4 separate regions of the Homo sapiens genome follow, and all the other regions are linked to region 1. The links are contacts of gene promoters, found by promoter capture Hi-C in blood cells and fetal thymus (Javierre and others, 2016). All regions are on one chromosome and are shown on one strand. Each heading gives the region's core, a stretch centred on a gene start or on the middle of the fragment in contact. The rest is flanking DNA. Distances are from core to core; before and after follow the strand shown. Region 1 holds the start of MATN1 (matrilin 1). Region 2 overlaps PUM1 (pumilio RNA binding family member 1). Region 3 overlaps SDC3 (syndecan 3). Region 4 has its middle 42 kb from the start of LINC01778.

The links. The method cuts DNA at HindIII sites, captures the fragments that hold promoters and counts their contacts. A CHiCAGO score of 5 or more calls a contact.
Region 2: a fragment that was not itself captured here is called in contact with the fragment with the promoter of MATN1 in region 1 in 2 of 17 cell types (total B cells and monocytes); the score reaches 5.9 in total B cells.
Region 3: a contact is called between a fragment that was not itself captured here and the fragment with the promoter of MATN1 in region 1, in 13 of 17 cell types (megakaryocytes, monocytes, naive B cells and 10 more). The highest score is 11.1, in megakaryocytes.
Region 4: a contact is called between a fragment that was not itself captured here and the fragment with the promoter of MATN1 in region 1, in 1 of 17 cell types (monocytes). The highest score is 5.3, in monocytes.

Annotation. Positions count from the first base shown.
Region 1 is chr1:30,721,908-30,725,348 of GRCh38, reverse strand. It overlaps MATN1 (matrilin 1), which reads left to right and starts at 1,764. Exons shown (of 8, transcript NM_002379.3): 1 at 1,764-1,891. The coding sequence starts at 1,798. All of the region lies in intron 2 of MATN1-AS1 (MATN1 antisense RNA 1), which reads right to left. The HindIII fragment of the contact is 11,974 bases long and covers 1-3,441 here.
Region 2 is chr1:30,964,016-30,967,456 of GRCh38, reverse strand. PUM1 (pumilio RNA binding family member 1) reads left to right here. Exons shown (of 22, transcript NM_001020658.2): 12 at 147-290; 13 at 1,179-1,475; 14 at 2,547-2,783. Among named protein-coding and RNA genes, the nearest start is that of SNORD103C, 2.5 kb to the left of the region's middle. The HindIII fragment of the contact is 1,749 bases long and covers 1,026-2,774 here.
Region 3 is chr1:30,904,528-30,907,968 of GRCh38, reverse strand. The region is part of intron 1 of SDC3 (syndecan 3); the gene reads left to right. Among named protein-coding and RNA genes, the nearest start is that of SDC3, 2.5 kb to the left of the region's middle. The HindIII fragment of the contact is 1,056 bases long and covers 1,405-2,460 here.
Region 4 is chr1:30,864,491-30,867,931 of GRCh38, reverse strand. No RefSeq gene overlaps it. Among named protein-coding and RNA genes, the nearest start is that of LINC01778, 42 kb to the right of the region's middle. The HindIII fragment of the contact is 320 bases long and covers 1,477-1,796 here.

The DNA of each region.
Region 1 (3,441 bases), core at 515-3,014:
AACACTGGTGCAAAGGGGAGTGAGGCCTGAGCTTTAGGCTTGGCTCTGCCCCTAAACTGGCTGGTGGCTTCGGGTAAGTCAGTGAACCTCTCTGGGCCTCAGTTTCTCCATCTGACAAATGGGCCAAGAGACTCAAATCTGCTGACTTCACAGGTTTGTTGGGTGAGCAAATGAGATAGAGTGATAGAATGAGTAACTGCCATGTCAAGGGTGGAAGGGATTGTTATAATTATTGCTAAAGAGTGTGGTAGCGGTGAGTTGGGTCTGCTGCACCCAGCAGTCGCTTTTTGTCTGTACATTTCCTTTTATTGAGGTATAATTTACACAGAGTGAAGTGCATAGGTCCCAAGTCTTAGGATTCTGCCTCCTGGAGCAATGACAATCCTTTAACTCCATTTCCACTTCTGTCCCCCTCTTGCCCCTCACATGGGGCAGGCAGATCAAGAACGACCATTCCCACTGCACCATGGCAAGCTGAGGCTCAGAGAGGTTAAGTCACCAGCTCCAGGTCACACAGCCAGTTAGGAGCAGAAGTGGCTTTGAACCTGGATCTCTCAGGTAGCCAAGCCCATGCTCTTTCTGCTCTATCTCATGAACTACTTGACCCAAATGCAAAGAAGGGGATCGTTCCTGCTGATGTTACTTTGTTTAGAAGGCTTTATCTTTGCCTTCTCTGTGCTGGGCCTGATGCAGAGTTGAATCCACTGGCTGACAGGTGAGGTGGGCCAAGCAGGGACCCACAGGGGGAAGAGATGGGCAGGGAGAAGCCACCTACATCAAGCTACACTGAGACAGCAGCATGGCTGAGAGCCGGGCCTGGGGCTCTATCCTGGCAATAACACTTCTTAGCTGTGTAACTTCAGACAAGTTATTTTACCTCTCTGTTCTTTAACAGTAGCTGCTTTAAAAAGTTGTCAAGAGGATTAACTGAGAAACCTCATCTAACTCCTTTGCTCCTTGAATCAACCCTAGGAGGCGCTATTACCATCCCTAGTTTCCAGATGAGCAATCTGAGACATGAGAGGTGAAGTCACTTGCCCATGGTCACACAGGTGGTTTGCTGGTATAGCAAACCCAGGTAACCTGGCTCCCAAGTCTGTGCTCTTAACCATGGTCTCCACTGCCCTGCCCATACTAACAGTGAAGGTACATGTTAGCCCTAATTATGACCTTGAAAGATTCTACAAGGCAGAGAGTTAGTGAGAGGAAAGGATTCTGGGCAGATGGCCCTGCATGTGTGATGGCCTGGAGGCCTTCGAGGAGAATCCAGGGGTAGCTGGAGAGCAGGGCGTGTGCGGAGAGCAGGGCACAGTGAGGCTGGGGAAGGGGAAGTGAATTTAATGAGAAACTTGGGGTTGTGAGTGGGGGAAGGATTTGGGTGTGGGATGAAGGTGCAGGACAGGGCTGGGCCGGGCCATTGGACTCAGGTATGCCTAGGCTTGGGGTGGAGCTTCAAGGCAGCGCGGGCTCCAGCCCCTGGAAGAGCCACCCCCCACCCACCTGAGATTTCCCAAATTCCAGCTGCCGCTCTAGTTGCTTCTGCAAGCAAAGGAGCCCTTGTGGTCAGAGGGGCCTCTGAAGCCTGGGCCAGGCTCTCCCGCCCTCTCAGGGCACACACACCTCCATTCAGCCCAAGCCCCGCCCTTTGGGGGGGCTGGGGGCCAGGGCGGGCTGCCCCCACGTCAGTCGTCAGTTGGGGGCCACCTGACCCAAAGGCTGGGCGGGCAGTGGGGTTGATAAGACCTGGACCCCACTGGTCCCACAACCGTGCCGGCTGCTGCCCGTGCTGCCAGAACTATGAGGGTCCTCTCTGGCACTAGCCTCATGCTCTGCAGCCTGCTGCTGCTGCTCCAGGCCCTGTGCAGCCCTGGCCTCGCCCCCCAGTCCAGAGGTGAGGGGGCTTGCGTGAGATGGGGGCTACTGAGCTAGTGGGCCCTGACCCTCAGCACTGGGGGCTGGGTACCGATATGGCAGGGAGCACACGGGATCCAGGATGGGGAAGGGAGCAGGGCGGCAGTGGTGGGCAGTGGGCTGGTGCAGGAGCAGACAGGGACCATGGTGCTTATAAGGGTCAGGGCAGGGGTGCTCCTCAGCCCTCAGGGACCATGCATGAGGCAGGGACCTTGGTCTTCCAGGTCTCTGGGGAGCAGAAGCTACTCAGAGAGCTGGCTGACGTCTGGAGCTGCACCAAGCCCAGGGCTGAGCCCATGGCTCTTTGATGACAGCAGACCTGGGATGCCAAGAGCTCATGCCCCCTTTGCAGGTCCTTCCAGCCTTGGGCTCCCTGGGGGCAATAACACCCCCCAGAGTTTCAGGTTTGGGCACTGAGTCCTGGAATGCCCATTCTTCCTGTACAGATGGGGAAACTGAGGTCAGTGAGGGCCTAAGACCACACAGTGAGATAGCGCCAGAGCCTCTAGGTTATTGATCTACTGCTGTACGGTGTGGCCAATTCCCTTTCCCTCTTTGGGTCTCAGTTTACCCATTTGTAGCCTTAGCGAGTAGACAGCAGGGAGCCTGCTGCATGGTGATTTCTAAGGTCTCCTGAGGAACTCTGATGTCCAGAGCCCCAGTCTAGGGCACTGTGAGTTACTGTGACTTGGGGGTTGGGACGGCCCTGCACGTTTCCCCTTTCCTCTTTGGGATTGGCTCTGCTCAGTTCAGACTCCGCATGGGATGGGGAGGGAAGGGCCTTTGTAGTGAGACCTTCCTGACTGCAGGCCCAGGCCAGTGACAGTAGCCTTATTCTCTCCACTGGACATGTGAGATCACGGAGGCTCAGAAAGGTGCAATGATCTGCCCAGGGCCCCACAGAGTGGCTGAGCCAGGATTTGAACCCAGGCCTGAACTCACTCTGACCCTGCATACTTCCCAGCACAGGGTGCTGCCTTCTTGGGTCTCTGGAGGACATTGCTCCTCGGGGGTGTGTCTTGGTGTGCACCTGATCAGGCTGCCGAGGTGGCCACCAGGAATTCCTGCTCCTTTTCCCTGTCTTTGGCAACCCGCCAGCAGGCGCTGCCAGGCTGAGGGAAACTGGTTCCACTTTGGTGATTTGCTTTGATGCTCAGATGAAAGAGGCCATGTTGACGGGCACTGCTTTGGCTCTCAAGCCTGTGCCCATGCCTGGAGGGCCCATCCTTGGTGCCCTCCTGCCCAGCTAGAAGAAATAGCTGCCCTTGTTTCTGGCAGCAAGTCTGGGCTGAAACCTAAATGTGTTTTCAAGGCCGCAGGGTCCTTTGCCACCCCTGGAATACTCATTGCTTGCCTGGCCCCCTGCTGGCTCCTCAAAACATCCTGTAAGGAGGGATTGCTAGCTCACTGCTCAGATGAGGAAACTGAGGCTCAGAGAAGTGAAGCAAATGGCCCAAGGCCAGGCTTGGCCCTCTGTGTTCCCCATGGGCTGAGCAGGGGGCCTTTGGCAAGTTGCTTGCTGGTGTCTGC
Region 2 (3,441 bases), core at 651-3,150, 240 kb before region 1:
TTCAACTATTTAAGTGATGGAGCCAGTATATAAATCTGGCCAATTCAACCTCAAAGCTGAGTTTGTGATTATTGACAATATGTTGGTGCCCAGGAGATACTTGTTTGTTTAACATATACATTTCTTTGTTGGCTTGATATTCCTAGGTTATCCGGTGTTGGCTCCTGCTGCTTACTATGACCAAACTGGTGCCCTTGTAGTGAATGCAGGCGCGAGAAATGGTCTTGGAGCTCCTGTTCGACTTGTAGCTCCTGCCCCAGTCATCATTAGTTCCTCAGCTGCACAAGCAGGTGAGCGCACATCTGAGTGGACTCCTGCCAGAGATCTAAAAGTGGCGACTGATAGTGAGATTCTTAAAGTATGTTGAAATAAACTTTTGGCAATTCTCAGTATATCGGTTCTACCCTGTAATGTTTCAAAAAGAGATCAGAAGCAATAAGTGACCTTAGTGGATTCTCCTTTTTGTTGGGGGGTTGGTGGGTTGGGGGAGGGGTGGCATGTGCCAGCTGGTTAGAAGCAAGGTCTGAAGGTCTGGCTCCACTGAGAACATAGAAGTTGCATTACTCACACAAAATGGCTTTGTTGGCAGAAATCCAAGTCATTATTTTAAGATAATTTTAGAGGAGGGGTTGTTTTTTGCCACAGGGGCAGGAGTGGAGGACGTGGGAAAGAGTAGTGAGAAGTGACAAAATAATACATTTGGTTGGGAGGAGTAATAGTTTTTTACTTTAAGTGTTTATATTTATTTATTTTTTAATTAAGAACAATAACAGGAACATCTAGAAGACAGCAGTGTGCTAAAATAGGAATTTGAAGGATGTGTATGTGCATTACATGGTTCTAGAAGAAACCCTCAACATAGATATTTATGGAATTTAAGATTTTAGGAAGTAGTTGTATTTAATGGATACATTTGATGTTTATACCCCTTTTAATCTGTATACTCTTAAAAGCAACCAGCATAGTGAACTTGTTCTAGTGGTATTTTGAGTTCAAATTGAAAGTAGAAACAGAAAATAGAAGCTTCATATGAAGGGATCAAAGACAGATTTGTATGGTTTGTGTCTGTTTTGAAAAGATAGGCAGCATTAAAAGATTTTTTGAAAAAAGATAAAAATGTAGTTTGGAAATGTGGCCAGTCCCTTTCATAGCCAAACGGTTTGCTTTCTTCTTCATAGCTGTTGCAGCAGCCGCAGCTTCAGCAAATGGAGCAGCTGGTGGTCTTGCTGGAACAACAAATGGACCATTTCGCCCTTTAGGAACACAGCAGCCTCAGCCCCAGCCCCAGCAGCAGCCCAATAACAACCTGGCATCCAGTTCTTTCTACGGCAACAACTCTCTGAACAGCAATTCACAGAGCAGCTCCCTCTTCTCCCAGGGCTCTGCCCAGCCTGCCAACACATCCTTGGGATTCGGAAGTAGCAGTTCTCTCGGCGCCACCCTGGGATCCGCCCTTGGAGGGTTTGGAACAGCAGGTAGAAATTAGACTGATATGCTCTTAAGACTGAATTTTAATTATTTTTACAATCCTTCTGGAATACTGGCAATGCATGGAACCACAGGCAGATCTGGACCAAGCCTTGTGGGAATCCAGCCATCCCACATAATCTGTGAGATGATAGACTATTGAAATCAAGTTATACAGATGGGACCTATTTCAATCCATGCTCATGTGGCTACTTACTTAATCAGTTTCTTTCAGGGATTTGAAATCTAGGGAAGATTTTTGCTGTATTTGGGAAAAATATTGAGGGAACTGTAGAAATTGATATCAAAAACTGAGGGAGGAGGACTTACTAAAGATAGCAGAGCTGAAATACTCCACAATTGAGACTGAGCCGAGTTCTTGGCCTGCAGGCCTTAAAGAGTTACAAGTTTTCTTCAGTCTTTTGAGTAGAATTTAAGGTAGACATGTGGAAAATTAGGAGGAAGGATATTAGACCAAGATATTTTTAATGTTTTGATGAAAAAAGCAGGAGTGTAGTATGGTGAATAATGGGATAATTGCAGAGATTATAAAAAACAAACAAACAAAAGTGATCCCTAAATAGAAGGGCATGTGTGAAAGAAAGTATCTTAATTGGAATTGAGGGCAGCATTAACTCTCGATTGAACCCACTGAGAAAACAGGCTTTCATATAGAAGTCTTGTGTAGTGGGGCAGTACCCCATTTACAAATCTTTTTTCTGTATCCCATTTTTCTACTTGAACCTTTTCAATTGATGAAAGGCATTCTTCTAGTCCATTTTCTTCCACCTTTTCCATAGTTCATGTGGCCGTCAGAGCTTTTTAACCCTCCCTTATCCTATAATATACGACACCATAGGAAGGTAAATTTGGCATATGTTTGATGGTCATGTTAACCTGAGCCATGTCCTCTTTATTACTTATCTGCCCCTAGTACTGCTACATTAACAGTTAGGCTGTCTCTGCTGACAAATTTGCGGTGGTAAGGAGTCTGGATCAAAGTGTTAGGAACAGGTCACTGGGCTTGTTCTTCGAAGAACAGGCCTGTTCTTATCTGCATTGTTTTAATTCCATTTTAGTTGCAAACTCCAACACTGGCAGTGGCTCCCGCCGTGACTCCCTGACTGGCAGCAGTGACCTTTATAAGAGGACATCGAGCAGCTTGACCCCCATTGGACACAGTTTTTATAACGGCCTTAGCTTTTCCTCCTCTCCTGGACCCGTGGGCATGCCTCTCCCTAGTCAGGGACCAGGACATTCACAGACACCACCTCCTTCCCTCTCTTCACATGGATCCTCTTCAAGCTTAAACCTGGGTAAGAACCATTACTCTAACACCACCTTGAACTCTAGAACTCTCTTGCCACCGATGACATTACAAGAACTTTGCATAAGCAAAGGACAGTCCCTTTATACTAGAAGTGTCCTGGGTGTTCTGTGCCTTCCGTAAATACCTCATGTTATTCAGGCTGTACCTATAGATAGTATAGCAGTTTTGGCTTTATTATAGTTTGGGTACATTCCCTGTATATTCAGTTAGCTTTAGTATGAACATTTTATTCTTTGGCTACCTGTGAGAGTATTTCAATGTAAACAATATAAACACAGGTTCATTTCAGTGAAGCTAGGAAACACAGAGACAGAATTTAATCACCTAGTATCACCACCTGAAATACCACCACAATTAATATTTTGCCTTATTTCCTTTCAAAATTTCCCCTCTGCTATATGTACATATAATATCTTGCTTTTTCACAAAAAGCATTTTATTTTTAAAATTTTGCCATATTTTAAAATATTTGTAAATATAAACTCTCAAACCATATAGTATGTTAATGAGGAGATGTATATTTCCCTATTAAATATTTAGATTGTTTTATGCATGGGATTTTAAAATATTACCATCTAGATTCTAGAAAATAGGGAGAGAAAAAGAGGATCCCAAGCAGCAGGCTATAAGAATGAAAAGAAAAT
Region 3 (3,441 bases), core at 683-3,182, 180 kb before region 1:
CTGGCTTTTGCCTCGTGGGTGTGCCCAGACCATGGCCACTTTTTGGGAATCGGATCGGTTCCCCTTCCGAGGGGAGGGTGTGCATTTGGTTCTTCCCAGGGTCGCGGCAGCCGGCCAGGGCAGTGGGCCCGGGAAGGGGAGGTGGAGGTGGAGGGTGACTTGGTGAAGGTGACCTGAGGGGGGAGTGAGGGTAACCCTGTGTGTGGGCGTGTGTGGGCGTGTGTGGCCAACTCAGTGAGGGGTGCGGGGACCTGTGGGGCGTGTGCAGGTGAAGGATGTGTCTGCCACATGGGTGGATGCCAGCGTGCCCTCCCGTCCGTGGTCGTGGGAGGGTGACCCATTGTGCATGATGTGTGCCTGTGCCTGGCTGGGCCACTGTTGGCTATGGCCGTGTGTGGCTGCAGTGGGTGAGGGTGTGTGTGTGAAAGACCTCTGGTGGGCGTGTGCTTGGACCCATGAATGTGTGTGAGTGCACATAGCAGCGTGTGCATGCAGGTGCATGGGGGACCCTGGACATAGGACGAGGACCCCTGAGGGGAACCAAGCATGTGCAGGTGGAGGTGATGGTATGTATGAGGTGACCCTTGAGTGTCCCTTTGAGTGACCGTAGCAGCCATGCTTGGTCCCAGCTCCGTCAGGGATGGCAGAGAAAGGAAGGACCTCATCCCCCTTTGAGGGATCCAGGCCCCAGATGAGTTCTTGTTGGACAAGTGTCCAGGTTCTGGCTCAGGCGGGCTGGGGATTTCTAGGTCCAGCCTCCCAGGTTGGTTCCAGGAGCTATGCTGTCCTGCATCCCCCAGGCTGAAAAGGACCCAGGCCTCTCAAGCAACACTGGGTGCCCAGCCGCCCTCTGCAAGTTCCTTCCCTTTCCCAGCCTCAGTGGGCCAGTCAGTAAGACAGGAGGAGGACAGGCAGGGGCTCCAAGCTTGCTTCTTGGATGGACAGGCCCCTCCTCAGCCTTCCCCATCTAGGGGGCTGTCAGCTGGAGGGAGGGGAAGTGTTGAGGGCTGACCTGTGTGAAGTGCCTGCTGGCCAGGATGTCTCATTCCCAGCTCTCCCCTAAGTGGGGTGAGAGGAAGAGGTCCCTGGGAGGGATAGAGACCCAGCACACCCTAGCAGCTGGGGTCGCCTTCTCAGCCAAATTTCTGAAAGACCATCCTTAAAATCAAAGGCTTGGGAATCACACAACCCTGGGTTCCAATCCTGCTACCCCCGCCGATTCGTGGCATGGTTTGGGCAGGTCCTCTTACTTCTCTGACCCTTGGTTGTCCCTCTGTGAAATGGGGCTAATGACCCCTTCCTCAGAGGGCAAAAATTCAATGGGATGACTGACGAGTGTCCTGAGAAGGAGCTCAGGAGTCATGTGGTGTGCACATGAATGAAAGGGGCTCAGGACAGAAAGCTTTAGACTTGGAGGCCAGGTGGAGCGCTGGGCAGGCCACTTTCCTTGCTGAATAAGGCTAATAATTCATACTCCACGAGGTGGTGGAAGGACTTAGTGAGAGCATTTAATAGCCTCATGCACAGTAGGGCCTCGCAACACGGGTGACCTGAATCTGAGAGGTGTGGCTCAGACCCAGTGTTGGGTGGCAGATCAAGCAGACCCTGGGAGTCTGAGCCCAGAGGCTGAAATGGTGGGTGGGGCCTGGGGGAGGGCAGGTACTGGGGCGCCTGGTGAGGTGGTGGGAAGTGGAGTGTCCTCCAGGCCTCACATCTTCCCATGGGTCAAGCTGTCAAGGAGGGGCATCATCCCTCTTGTCCTCATCTGACTTGGGAGGAAAAGGGTTAATGGGTGGTACCTGGTTGCCGGGGTTCCGCACCAGAGGGAGAGGGCAGTGCCTGCAGCAGGAGGGACTGAGGTTAGATCAGAAGAGCCCCAGCCAGGGAAGCTCCAGGGGTGGCCTTGGTAGATGAGCGGTGGCTGGCACAGGGCAGGGAAGGGCAGGGACATGATGACCCTTGGGTCACCTGCCAGCCTTTGTGTGTGTGTGTGTGTGTGTGTGTGTGTCTTCGTGTCTTTCAGCATGGGGATAGCAGGGAGAGCAGGCCTCATTCACACTGCAGATGGTGAATTGCAGTGTGTGTGTGTGTGTGTGTTTGTGTGTCTGTGTCTGTCTCCTGGCATCTCCTTTGAGGAGTCCCTCTTCTGACAGACCAAGTTACCAGGACTCTGAGGGACATCTGCCTTTAAGGCCACCTCAGCTACTGTACTTAAGTCACCACTCAAAGTTTTGGAGTGTGAGGATCCTGAACATTTTAGCTTTTGAAACATGTTCTTTCAAAAGTCCAGGGCTGGAAGGGATCTTAGGTGTTAGTCTTGTTTGAATACTCCCAGTGATGGGAGACCACTACCTTGTGGCTGTGTGACCTTGTGAAAGTTACCTAACCTCTCTGTGCCTTAGTTTCCACCTCTTTAAAATGGAGACAATGCGAGAATGGAAGGGCTTAATTTGGAAAGCTTTTAGCCCAGTGGCTGGCACCTACTAAGGGCTCAACAAATATGGATTTCTTGTTCTTTTACAAAGTTGCTGTACTGTGGTTGGGAAGGCAGGAGGGGTGGGGAGTGGAAGGGTGGGAGACGTGTGTGTGTGTGTGTGTGTGTGTGTGTGTGTTTGTGAGAGAGAGAGAGTACGGATGGGGGTGGGGGTGGGGGTGGGGTGGGGTGGGGGAATTAGTAGGGAATTCTTTTGAAGCTCAGCCCCAGGCCTGGTGGTTTCCGTTCCTTCCTCACCCTGTTTCAAGCATCCCTGCTCTTCTCCCCTCCAGGCTCCCCTGGGTGACTGTGAGCCTTGGGTTTCCAGGATGAGATAGTCCTCACCAAAAAAATGGAAAGTTGGGGGCCCCTGGGCTGTTCTGGGCCAGGCTCTTGGGTGAACCATCTCCCCTTCCAGCATTTGGGGGACAGGCACAGGGACACCACAGCTGTATGCTGCCTGTTAGCTCCCAAGGTACCAGGGGCTCTGGGGACAGACACCTGCTGTGTGATTTCCAGTGAGGGATTTCTTTCTGTCTCAAAGTCCTTGTCTATAAAATGCGGACAGTAATGGTGTCAGCCTCACAGGGATGTTGTGACTTGGAAATGAGCTGCTTGAGTAGACCGAGCACACCTGCCACGTAGTGAGCTCTCAGGAGATGGGACCTTTCTGGGAGGGAGCATGGATGGGGTCAGGGAAGGCTTCCTGGAGGAGGAGGGTTTTGAGCTAAGCAATGAAAGTGGTCATCACATGACAGTAGCAGGCTGTAACCTGCCCTGACCCTCAGCTTTCTTACCTGTCAACTGGGGGCAACAAATACTTGGCTTTTAGAATCACTACTGGGGGCTGTGACTCTATCCTCAAGGCAGGGCTGGGATTTGAACCTGAAGCCTCCTGCTCTCTGGGGAGGAGTGAGCACAATGCCTCCAGCTGTGAGTTCAGTGTGTTGGGGGTTGGTGCGAGGTGA
Region 4 (3,441 bases), core at 387-2,886, 140 kb before region 1:
CACTGGTCTGTGGTGGTGGCGGTGGTTGTGGGAGGGGGGGGGTCATTCTTTCTCAGCTGCCACCTCCAAGCCCCACCAAGATTGCCCCTCACTGCTAGGCAGTTCAGGGACAGAGCCCTGGTGCCCGGGGCCTCACTGTGGGACCTCAGACAGTTTGACTCCTTGGAGCCTCAGTCTGCACAGCTATAAAATGGGGTGAAGGGGCCAGACCTGCCACTGGGAGGTCCTCACAGGAGTGGGCCAGTTAGACACCTGCTATGATGTGAGGGGTTGGTTTACCAAGATTCAAAGCCAAGCATGAGTGGCTGTTCACTCAGGAAGCTTCAGAAGGCAATGCCCCATCTTCTGAGTGCTGTCAGCCCGCCGTCTCCCTCCTACCCTTCTCCCCTTCTCTCTTGAGTTCTAGTGATGTGATTTTATTTTCAGCTTGGAGGAGTAGAAAGAGCATGGTCTTGAAGTCAAGCAGACTCTTTGCTCTACCTCTCTGAGCCTCGATTTCCTTGAAGGCAAATGAGGACAATAAGGTTGGTATTTGGAGGCATGAAGCATGGCATACATGCCCATCTGTAGCTGGATTTCTATTCTTCTCTTTGCAGCACCTACGTTTTACCAGGCAAACCTTTATTCAAATCCTAGCTCTGTCAGTGACTAGCTATGTGACCTTGGGTGAACAATTCAAACTCAGTGCTCAGTTTCCTCACTTGTAAAATGGGGGCAATACTAGTACTGGCCTCATATGCATAGTGCTTAGAACTATGGCAGGCATAGAGTAGGTGCTGTACAAATGTGGGCAATTATTACTGCTGTTGTTGTATTGTTATTACTGTTATTCTTATTTGCAGGGCCCAGCACACTGCCTATTGATTGAACAAGTGATACTGAGCTTGGGTAGAAATCAAACTATCAGGGTCAGCTCTAGTATGAACTATGACTTAGGCTTGTTAGAGCCAAGGGCAGAGCCTGGAAACCATGTATTTGGGCACAGATAGGCTGGGCACTGCTGGAAGTTGGAGCACTTCCCTCTGGGCCCCCTCACCCAAGATATGAGCAACAGAATCAAGAGGGAAGGAGGAAGAATAGCTGATTGTTTCCTGCAGCCCAAGAGGTCACAGCCACCCAGCCCAAGCTTCCCTGAGAACAGAGTGTGCTCAGCTTCCAGGGCCGCCCACCCTGCCTCTGCCGGCCTGAGGGTGGGCTCAGAGCACGAGGATCTAGGTTTATCACCACCAGATAACCAGTAGGGATGAGAGAGGGCAGACAGCAAGAGGAATAGGGTGAGGCACTATGCCAGGTACCAGGTATCATGTTAGCTCATTTAAGCCCCAGGTCTGGTCTCTTGGCCTGTTGTTGCAAATGGAGCAACTGAGGCTCAAACAGCAGAATCCCAAAGCCCTAGAGCAATTGGAAGGTGCGGTGGGATTCTGCTGTCTCCTCCCTACCAAGAGCTAGCTGTGAGGGTGGGCAGGTTACTAAGCTTCTCTGAACCTCAGTTATATCACCAGAACAACAGGAGCACTAGGAGTTTGAAAGCCTCTAACGAAGCATTAACACACAACCTTTGTGGGATGCCTTCCAATTATCGTCGTTCATTCATAGACATTATCTTATTTAATTCTTGGAGACAATTATTACCCCCATTTTATCATAAACAATGTGTTTACAATAAACACATTGGCCTTATCAGCAAAATCCACACTGTGGGATACTCTATAGGAAAAACAATCCAGTTTTTTTTCAACACATAAATTATAAGGAAGACAAAAAAAAGAGAGAGATGGAGAATTTATAGATAAGCTTAAATGAAATGTTAACTAATCAATGTGGGAACCTGATTCAGATCCTGATTCGAACAAATTATATTTTTAAAATGCTCCAGTTATGAGGCAAGTGGAAATTGAACTCTGAGTGAATGAGTAAAAACATAAATATATATATTTTTATATATATATTTTCTCTTTTTTTGAGACAGGGTCTCATTCTGTCGCCCAGGCTGGAGTGCAGTGGTCTGATCATGGCTCACGGCAGCCTCGAGCTCCCCGGGCTCAGGTGATCCTCTTACCTCAGTCTCCCAAATAGCTGGGACTACAGGTGCTCGCCACCATATCCGACTAATTTTCATATTTTTTGTAGAGACATAGTTTTGCCATGTTGTCCAGGCTGGTCTCAAACTCCTGGGCTCAAGTGACCGAGTGAATATTTGTTATTAAGGATTCATTGTCAATGCTCTTAGATGTGATAAGGGCCCTGTAGTTATGGTTTTTTTTTTTTTTTTAAATGAATCCTTACCTTTTAGAGATACAGACTGAAATATTTGTAGATGAAGTGACAGGGTGTCTGGAATTGACTTCAAAATAATATGGGGAGGAGTGGGTGAGGGAATGGAGGAAATAAGTTGGGGCTTGAGTTGATCGTTATAGACGCTGAGTGATGGGCACATAGGGGCTTCATTATATTATTCTATCTACTCTAAGTTTACATTTTAAATTCTCCATAATAAAGTGCTTTAAAAGAAAAGAAAGCGGCCGGGTGCAGTGGCTCACGCCTGTAATCCCAGCACTTTGGGAGGCTGAGGCAGGCAGATCACGAGGTCAGGAGATCAAGACCATCCTGGCTAACACAGTGAAACCCAGTCTCTACTAAAAATACAAAAAAATTAGCCAGGCAAGGTGGCGGGCACCTGTAGTCTCTGCTACTCTGGAGGCTGAGGCAGGAGAATGGCGTGAACCTGGGAGGCAGAGGTTGCAGTGAGCTGAGGTTGTGCCACTGCACTCCAGCCTGGGCGACACAGCGAGTCTCCATCTCAAAAAAAAAAATAAAATAAAATAAAATAAAATAATAAAAAAAAGTAAAAGAAAGCAATTCCCAGAGGGGCCTGAGGTTGCACCCCCAGGAAATGCAGAGCTGGCTCCCCTGCTGCAAGTCTAGGGCCCTGGCCACTCGCCCAACCCCTGCCTGTGAACTCCCGCAATGCCCTATTTTCCTCGGCTCTACGTCATCCACTTCCAAGTGGTCAGTGCCTTCATGGACCCTGTTCCCTCCCGTTTTATGAAAACTGACTCTTATGAATGGCTCTGTTGAAATAATTTGCATGAAATTGTCATGACTGACGCGTGGCTTTAGCTATTTCCCTCCTCCAGAGGTGTTTGTCCATTGCCAGAGAAAGTAGCAAAAGCAGCCCTTCCCAAGTGAGCCATGTGTTTCAGCTCATGAAGCACTGTTCAGGAAGTCCTTGGTCTTGCTTGCCATTCACATCAGTCCTGGGAGATGGGCTGGCTGGGGATTACTCCTCCCACCTTGGAGGACATTAGGTTTGTTCATCACCATCCCCTACCCTCACTGCCCACCCCTGCCCATTTTCAAGGCTCTGGCCAAGTCTAGACCTTTATCTTGTCTTGCTGGAAATATTGAAATAGTCTTACCGGCATGCTGTAAGGAAAGGGC